Linked DNA regions of Homo sapiens: region 1 is linked to region 2. Evidence: promoter capture Hi-C in human tissues and cell types (Jung and others, 2019). All regions are on one chromosome and are shown on one strand. Each heading gives the region's core, a stretch centred on a gene start or on the middle of the fragment in contact. The rest is flanking DNA. Distances are from core to core; before and after follow the strand shown.

The links. The method cuts DNA at HindIII sites, captures the fragments that hold promoters and counts their contacts. A contact is called where the count stands out against the background at its distance.
Region 1: a contact is called between a fragment that was not itself captured here and the fragment with the promoter of HPN in region 2, in 1 of the 25 tissues and cell types used here (pancreas).

The regions. Positions count from the first base shown.
Region 1 is chr19:34,735,951-34,740,340 of GRCh38, forward strand. It overlaps ZNF181 (zinc finger protein 181), which reads left to right. Exons shown (of 4, transcript NM_001029997.4): 2 at 3,198-3,318; 3 at 3,573-3,671. Among named protein-coding and RNA genes, the nearest start is that of ZNF181, 3.9 kb to the left of the region's middle. The HindIII fragment of the contact is 4,437 bases long and covers 86-4,390 here.
Region 2 is chr19:35,040,471-35,045,139 of GRCh38, forward strand. It overlaps HPN (hepsin), which reads left to right and starts at 1,251. Exons shown (of 13, transcript NM_001384133.1): 1 at 1,251-1,402; 2 at 1,983-2,052. The coding sequence starts at 2,037. RefSeq lists an enhancer at 1-722. The HindIII fragment of the contact is 10,578 bases long and covers 1-4,669 here.

The DNA of each region.
Region 1 (4,390 bases), core at 1,054-3,553, 300 kb before region 2:
GCTTTGTTGTTTTCCACAGTGTGTGTCACTCACTAGCTGATGTACTGTATGTTCAGTATATGCACATGCTCATTGTCTGTTCCTGGTGGGAGGAATCTTTTTTCTTTTTTGTTGTCTGTTATAGCTTCAGTACCCAGAGGGTTACCTGGCACCAAATAGATGCTTAGTAAGTAATTGTGGAGTGAATAAGATGAGTAATGACGAACTGGTGGGGCAGAATCATGGCATGGAAGGTGAAGCTTGCATAGGAGGGGATGTGAGTAGCAGATGTACATGTTGGGTGAAGTCTGTTTTCTTGGAGAAGTTAGATAATTAGAATTGAAAAACTGGTGTGGTGGTACATGCCTGTTTTTCCAGCTATTCGGGAGGGTGATGAGTTGAGAAAATTTCTTGAACCCTGTGGTGTGCGGCTGCAGTGAGCTATGATTATGTCACTGCACTCCAGCCTGGCGGCAGAGCAAGAAAAAAGTAACAGCTAAAGTGAACTAATGCCAAAATCATTCATTGGTTCATCTTCTAAACACTTAGGAAGTATCTGTTAGGAAAAGTTGTACATGGATTTTGGTGTACACTGACACACAGGACTTCATGATCTAGTGCAGTATTGTCTAAGAGAACTTTCTGCAGTGGTGGAAGTGCTCTGCATGTGTACTGGTCAGTACAGTAGCCACCAGCCCTGTATGACTATTGAGTACTTGAACTGTGGCTTAAGCAACTGAGAAACTGAATTTTAAACTTTACTTATTTTATTTTTACATTTTAATTAATTTAAATGTATGTAGCCAAATTGCCTAGTGGCTACTGTATTGAGGATTGCAGCACTGGTAGAAAAGTAAGAAAGCATAAGAAATTAAAATAAATGCCAGGACAGATAGGCTATGTTCTTTTGGGGACAGAGATGAGTGAACACCCCAGGCTGCCCAGACAACTGAAGGGGAAGAAGGAAGCATCCCTGGCTCTAACTTGTAATAACCTGTTCATCATAAAGCTATGAGAAATGTTTTTTTGATTTGGGATAAAGGGAATTAACTAACACAGTGGCAACTCCAATTAACAGGTGAATTTAGGATAAATTATGTGTAGCAAATTGAACTGTAAGGTCTTACTTGATTATTTGGAAAATGTATGTATTGGATTGTATCTGCTTGGCTATAAAAAAGAGATTTCTTCCTGTCCTTTTAATCTCATTAGTGGATTGCCTGTGAAGTGCATCACAGTTGATTTAGTGATTATTAAGTAATAAAACTGTGTTCTTTTTTTCTACATTTGTGGAGAGGATTTTCTGCCATTGGCAGGAGATTTGAATTTTAATTATTTTCCCAACACCTGGCAAAAATAAATTCTGCCTTTAAAACCAAAGACGAGTATCACTGGTGAACATGCATGCAAAATATCCAAATAATGTAATACAATGCTGAATTAACTCTCAGAGCTAAAAAATTACCACAGGCAAGCAGTCTGTTTCACAAATCAAAGACAGTAATAATGCTGTATTAAATAGATGTATTTTTTGTACATATTATAATTTGACTAGCCAATAAACTATTATTGAATATTTAAGCTTCCAAAGTTTTACTAAAAAGTAATATTGTGAAATGAGTACTATTGAAAGGAATTTCTAAGCCACATCTGTGAACATTTCCTTATTTTCTTTGAAACGTACCCCTTTATTTTTTTCCCTTTACTTTCAGGTCTTATTTAAGGACTATCTAAGGCAGTGGTGCCCAACCTTTTTGGCACCAGGGATCGGTTTTGTGGAAGACAGTTTTTCCACAGAAGCAGGAGGTGGTGGTTTGGGGGTGAAACTGTTTCACCTCAGATCATCAGGCATTAGTTCAATTCACATAAGGGGCGTGCAACCTTAATCCCTTGCATGCGCACTTCACAGTAGGGATTGCGCTCCTATGAGAGTCTAATGCCATAGCTGATCTGACAGGAGGCAGGGCTCAGGTGATAAAAGTCATTTGCCTGCCACTCATCTCCTGCTCTGTGGCCTGATTTCTAACAGGCCACAGACTGGTACCAGTGGTTATGTACCCCTAACCATCAGGGGATTAGGGACCCCTGATCTATGGCATGAAACCATCCTTCAGTCTTTTCACCCAGGGGTCTCATATTTTAATAATTGTCTATCAGTACAAAGTTTAAGTATACACCATAAATATATTTTTCTTTTTTGTTTATGAATCAGTTATGTGTATATTTTAGTCCATTGGTGCTGCTATAACAGAATACCACAGACTGAGTAATAGAAATTGACTTCTCATGGTTTTGGAGCCTGGGAAGTCCAAGATCAAGGGGCAGGCATCCAGCAAGGGCCTTCTTGCTGTGTCCTTTTATGGTGGAAGGGCGAAGAGAAGAGAGAGAACCAAAAAGGGGCCCAAACTCATTTTTTAAATAAGGAAGTCACTCCTAATGATGATGACATTAATCCATTCATGAGGGCAGAGCCCTCAAGGCCTAATCATCTCCTAAGGTCTCACCTCTCAAAACTGTTACAGCGGCGATTAAGTTCAATACACGCGTTTTGGGGGTCACAATCAAACCATAACAGTGTATGTCTATTAGTCTTTAATATAAAGGTTTTTTTTTTGTTTTTGTTTTTTTTTTTGAGACAGAGTCTTGTTCTATTACCCAGGCTGGAGTGCAGTGGCGCAACCTCCGCCTCTTGGGTTCAAGCCATTCTCCTGCCTCAGCCTCCCAAGTAGTTGGGATTACAGGTGTGAGCCACCACACCCAGCTGCCCATTTTTTGTGAGCCTTAGTGGATCATCCTGAGTATCCCATTTGAGAGACAATCACTTTACCCTCATTTTTTAATTACTTACCTAGCAGTTAAGCTGTAAAAGATATAACTAAATACTTGACTCTGTGCTGTCAAATGTCAAATGCTGATTTTTAAAAATTCATGTATTTCTGTAACTTTTAGCAAAATTAACTCTACTGAAGCAAAGCTCTCATATTTGTTTCTCACCTTTATTGTATAATAATTCTAAGCACATAACTGTCCCCCTTATTGTATAGTAATTCCAACTACATAACTGTCCTATTATTACTTAACTGAGATCACATTCCCAATCATTGCCACAACTCCTGAATCTTGTTCCATTTCTCCCACAACCAGGCTAATTTTACCCTTTCTTCAGTGACAGAAGAGGCCTGGGCTATGGCTGAGCCTAAATATGTTTGCTATTTCAGGTGACATTTAATGATGTGGCTATAGACTTCACTCATGAAGAGTGGGGATGGCTCAGTTCTGCTCAGAGGGACTTATACAAGGATGTGATGGTCCAGAATTATGAGAACCTGGTCTCTGTAGGTAAGGATATTACCCCTTCCACTCCAGTAGGGGACACCTTTCTTTTGCCACCCTGAATTGCTGGAGACCCTCCTAAGTAAATGGCTGAATTTCTGTAGCATGTTCCCAAGGAAATGTGCAGCTCTGTTGTGCCCTGCCTGAAGCTTATCTTTCCATTTCGATGAATACCCTTCATCCCTTCCTGTGGTCCCTCTTGTGATGGCCTCTCATAATAGAGGACCACGGCTTAAACAATTCTGTATTCTTCCTGTAAGCAGGTCTTTCTGTAACTAAGCCATATGTGATCACGTTATTGGAGGATGGAAAAGAGCCCTGGATGATGGAGAAAAAACTGTCAAAAGGTATGATTCCAGGTGAGTCATGGTGAACGAGACAAAGGAAGATTTTGTTAAAAAGGGTCCCAAACTCTTTATAGTGAGTTTATAGTGAGTGTGGAGGCATTTTAGGTATACTGTTTTCAAAGATCTCAGATAGAAATGAAAAATTGTGGGATATTTAGCTTAGATTTTCAAAACAATTGTTCCTCTATCCCAAATTATTATCTGTATCACTCATGTCATCCAATCAAGGTTAGAGGTTTTTGCCTTCATAATAATTCAATTGTTACTCTATTCATAACAGTAAGGCAAATTATTCTTTCTTAAATCTACTTAAAGAAAAACATACTGATAGTTTTAGGCTAAGAAAAGCTGTCAATTAGATGGGAAATCACTTTTCTAAAGCTGAGCGTTGTAGATGAAATATGAACATATTAGAGGAAAAAATGAACATATATAAATATGTTTCTAGGAATATTTTCTAATGTCCAATAAATGACATGATTCACACAGTTTCTTCATAACTTCAGAAAGCCTAAATCTTTGTCAGCTATAAAGAGCATTTAGATTATTGTGTTTTTACTGCAACTGTTTAATAACATCAATTCTGTATTTTAAGCATGTTAATCTGGCAGCAAATTGAGATTAATTGAATGTTGGAGAAAAAGGCTATGAGACAAAATGCAATCTTTCATACATGCATATAGGCACAAAATGATGGCTTGGAATCCAGAATGCCTTCCACATTTTATTTC
Region 2 (4,669 bases), core at 1-2,500:
CCCGTCACCTTCCCCCCATTCCCGTCCCCGAATCTTCGAGCCCGCTTTCCAGGGACCCTACCTGAGGGCCCACAGGTGAAGCCACTTAGTGCCTGATCTGTGTCGGGGTTGGGGGAGCCATGGGCTCAGGGGTGAGGGAGAGTGGAACGGAGCCAGGAAGGGAGGGGGTGCCGTGGAGGGAAGAGAATCGAGGCTGATGCTGGGGTGCAGGGGTGGCATGGGGTGTGTGGTGTGCCCAGCAGTGTGAGTCTCTGGAGAGGTGGGCGCTGGGGAGAAGGAGAGGGAAGGAGAGACGGGTATGGATGGAAAGGCAGAGGAAGCCAGGCTAAACCAGCGTGTCCCAATGAGGGGCCCTGGGCTGAGTGGAGGAAATGGGTGCGGTGGAGGTGGGTTTGGCTGGGCACAGCGGGCACGTGTGGGTAAGCGGGTGGGGCCGGTTGTGCGGGTGGCCTATCTGGGGCAAGCAGCCGAGGCCGACTGTGTCCGGCGTGTGGTTGAGCACGGGCAGGTGTCTGGCGGTGACCCTGCACGTCTGGTGTTTACCTGGCCCTGGGTCTGACGTGGGCCGCGCCTGGCTGCTGGCGGGACAGTGTGTTATCTGCCTGCGGACGCTTCCGGCCACTTGGCCTGGGCCTCTGCCCTTAGCGCTGTGTTTTCCCGGCCAAGCCCCCCATCCCCCCTATCTAGTGCTAGGACTTTCTGGCTCCAGAGGTCACCGCGGCCGGGCGGAGGCTGCCAAAGCAAACCAGCCCCGTGACTTGTAGGAAGCCAGCGGGGGAGGGGCCGGGGCAGGATGAGCAGGGCAGGCGGGAGAGGCTGGGGCTGGGGTTGGGGCCCAGGAATTGGGCAGGGAATTAGGCAGAGGTGCAGCAAGTGGCGGGCACAGCCAGGACCTGGGGCTGGAGGACGCAGAAAGGGCGGGGGGAAGGGTTCGCTGGGTGAGGGTGGAGTGGGCTTAGGGCAGCTGGGGCCCTCCATCTGATCTCTTCTGGTCAGACCCCCACCCTTCAGCCTGCACTTTCTCCCTAAACCCCCAGCCTCCGGCCAGGCCTGTCCCTGTTCCCACATCCCCGCAGACAGGCACACCTGGGTCCCCCTGGAGGTCCAAGGCAAGCCCCGTAGCTGGGCCCGCCTGGTCCAGCCCCCACAAGCCCGGCCCCATCAGCCAGGTGGCCTCCAGTGCTGCCAATCGAATGGTCCGGCCCCTCCCCGCCCCTTCACCCGCCCCTCGCCCAGCCCCCTCCTCCTCAGGTGAGGCAGCCTGGCCTAGCAGGCCCCACGCCACCGCCTCTGCCTCCAGGCCGCCCGCTGCTGCGGGGCCACCATGCTCCTGCCCAGGCCTGGAGACTGACCCGACCCCGGCACTACCTCGAGGCTCCGCCCCCACCTGCTGGACCCCAGGGTAAGGACAAGGGCCCCCAGACTCACAGTTCCAGCCCTGAGGACAGGGGTTCCCTCATCCCCCCACCCAGCCTAATGCCCACCTCCTAATAGAGGGGTTCCTGGGGACCTGAAGAGGGGGCACTATGACGTCCCCCCAAGCACCTAGGTGTTCTGTCCTGCTCTTCCTTCAGACTCAGCCGTTGGACCCCAGTCCTTTCCTCCCCAGACCCAGGAGTTCCAGCCCTCAGGCCCCTCCTCCCTCATACTAGGGAGTCCTGGCCCCCAAATTCCTCCTTTCCCAAGACTTATGATTTCAGGTCCTCAGCTGTCTCCTCCCTCAAACCGGGATCCTCAGTCCCCTGCTCCACCAGGCTCAGGCATGGGGGTCCCCATCCCTGCAAATCCAGGCGTCCCCCCGCTGCTGGTCAGACACTGACCCCATCCTTGAACCCAGCCCAATCTGCGTCCGTGATCACGGCGTGCTCTGGCCAAGGCCCAGTCCCTACAGCCTGCCTGGATGGACGCCTGGGACTGGGGGCGCCAGGACTGGGCTGGGCTGGGCTCCCCCAGGCCCTGCCTCCCCGTCCATCTCCTCACAGGTCCCACCCTGGCCCAGGAGGTCAGCCAGGGAATCATTAACAAGAGGCAGTGACATGGCGCAGAAGGAGGGTGAGTCCCCTTCCCTGAGCCCCAGCTTTGGCTCTGCCTGGCGCCCCGCCCTCTGTGCTCTTTTCTCTACCCTCTACTCTTCGGAGCCCCCTCTCTCTGGGCACCCCTCCCAGATGCATCCCCACCCCTGTTAGTCCTCCTCCACCTGATTAACTATTAACCACATTTTCTGTGCAGCTGTGCCACCACCAGCCTCCCTTCTACCCTATGTGACCTTCCTGGCGTGCTGCCTCAGTTTCCCCTCATCCCCCAGTGATTTCTCAGCTAACTCTGGACTTGTCCTCTGCTGGGGCTGAGGCGGGGAAGCTGTAGCTGTCATGGTTAAGGACACAGATTTGGAGTGAAACACACAGGCTTGCATTTGAATTTGCTCTTGCCATCTTTTTTGCTGTGTGATCTGGTGCAAGTGACATTATTCTTAGGGCTTTGGTCTCCCTCTGGGTCAAGCATGGATACCAGTCCTCCCTCTGTGAGGTTGCTGAGTGCATGACACACACCAGGCACTGGTCTGGGGCTCTGCATATAAGACGCATGCCATCAAGCAGAGCTGTCATGACAGAGGTTGGCAAACTCGGAGTCCCAGAGACCCAGGACCCCCACCGATCCCAGACATTCCTCCACCTCCTGGCTCTGTGGGCAAAAGAGCAGAGGGAGGACTTTGGACTGGGCCTGGATGGATGGAGAGGGGAGAGACGGCAGAGAAACCACCATAAGGATGAGAGAGAGAGACTGCGTCATGGAGTTGCTGGCCCTTGGGAGTCTCTGGGCAGCCCCCAGCTAGCCTGGCTTCCTTTCTACCTCTCACACATGGGACCCAGCTGGAGGGGCGCATGGAGGGGCGTCCTGTTCTTTCTGCCTTCCCCTAGCTGGGGCTGACTCCCTCTCTTCTTCCGCAACCAGGATAGCCGGGCTCAGTCCTGGGCAGTAGCACTTTCTAGCTGTGTGGCCCTGGGCAGACGGCGTGTTCTCCCTGGGCCTCCATTCTCTCATCTGTGAAATGGAGAGGGTGACAGTGCATGTCCAACAGCGTGGGGCGAGGCCTGAAATGCCAGGATGGGCAGGAAGCACTGAGCGTGTTGGCTGAAATGATTAGTTCAGATCTCTGGCCTCCTCGGGTCTCGGCACAGCTGGCAATTCAGACCCCAAACCAATCAGCTGCAGTCCAGAGGGAACCCAGGCTCCCAGTTACTCAGGAGAAGGCATTGCACCCTAGCCGAGCAGGTGGATGACAGAATCCAGCTCCTTGGGGACAATCTCTTTCCTGGAGCTGCCGGAAGGACAGCCCCAGGGCTTGGGCCCATGGGTGAATGAGCCAGGGAAGAAAAGCAGAAAATGCCCGAATGGACAGAGATGGCCTGGGTACAAAGAGAAACAGACACAAAGTGGGCTCTGGTGCCTCCCTGGCAGCTCCGGGCTGGTCTTGGAGGGGAGTCCTGCTGTCAGGGCTAGGGGTGTGGAGGTCGAACCTGGACACAGATGCTGAAGGGTTCCGATTCTGCACTTACTTGCCGGGTGACCCGGGTTTGGTGGCTGCCGGACTTTGGGCCTCCTTTTCTCATCTGTAAACTGGGGGTGATGGCAATGGCGCCTTCCTCGTGAACAGCTGCAAGGATTTAAGTAAGGATGCTGTGCAGGACTGGACGGGGTTAGGGTAGGGCGGTGCGTCCGTGTGTGATTCAGAGAGCCGTTGTGGCTGCAGCGGCTGCTGTTGTTGGTGTCACTGTTATTGCTGCTGGCTTCTTGGTGCTGCCTGGAAACTTGGAATTGGAGGAGGTGATACTGGAGTTGCAATTCCAAGGATGCCAGGCAGAGGGAAGAGCAAGGCTCTTGCTCTTCTCTGGGAAGCTGGGAGGTGACACAGCACTGGTGTGCACGTAGCCAATTGTGGTATTTCTGGAGGTGAAGCTGGAAGTTGAGCTGGGTGGGAGAAGAGGTGTGCAAGCTGGACCAGGCAGGGGTGGGACTGTTTTGGGGAAGAGCTGGCCAATTCCTTGCAGTACCAGGTCTCTCCACAAGGTGGCGCCAGTGGTTAGTCCCTGCTTCTCTTGTCTAACTTGTATTTTACAAGTTCTACTGTTTGGGTTGCTTTTTGGAAGCTCTCTCTGGTACCTGATAGTGACCCACATGGTTGTCTGAGAATTGGGGGAAACATACTCCCAAATCTCTGAAAGCCATGCTTATACCCTAGTGGGGCTGGAAATGCCAGGCTGAGGGACTTAAGCTGTCTGGGGGGTACTAGGGAGTCACAGAGGGTTCTATAGGTAAAGAGGGGACAGGTTGGATTTGGTGTCTCAGTAGGTTCCCCAAGCCTCCGTGTGGAGGGTGCGCTAGAAGGGAGACTGAGCCCAGCGGTTGGATGGGGCCGGAGCAAGGTGCAGATGGAGAGAAAGAAGGAAACGGGGGAAGGAGAGTCACTCAGGAGGATTGGCAGGCTGTCGGGGGAGGGGAATGTTATGCAGATGGGGATGGTCCTAGGAGTGAGGGCCTCTGAGACAGGACCGGGAGGAAGAATATACTTGGGGAGACATTGGGGAGACATTCTGGGACCTGGTAGGGGCAAAGGGACTAGGAGGTCCCAGGGAAAGGTATTTAAAAGGTATTTAAAGGACTGCAGGAG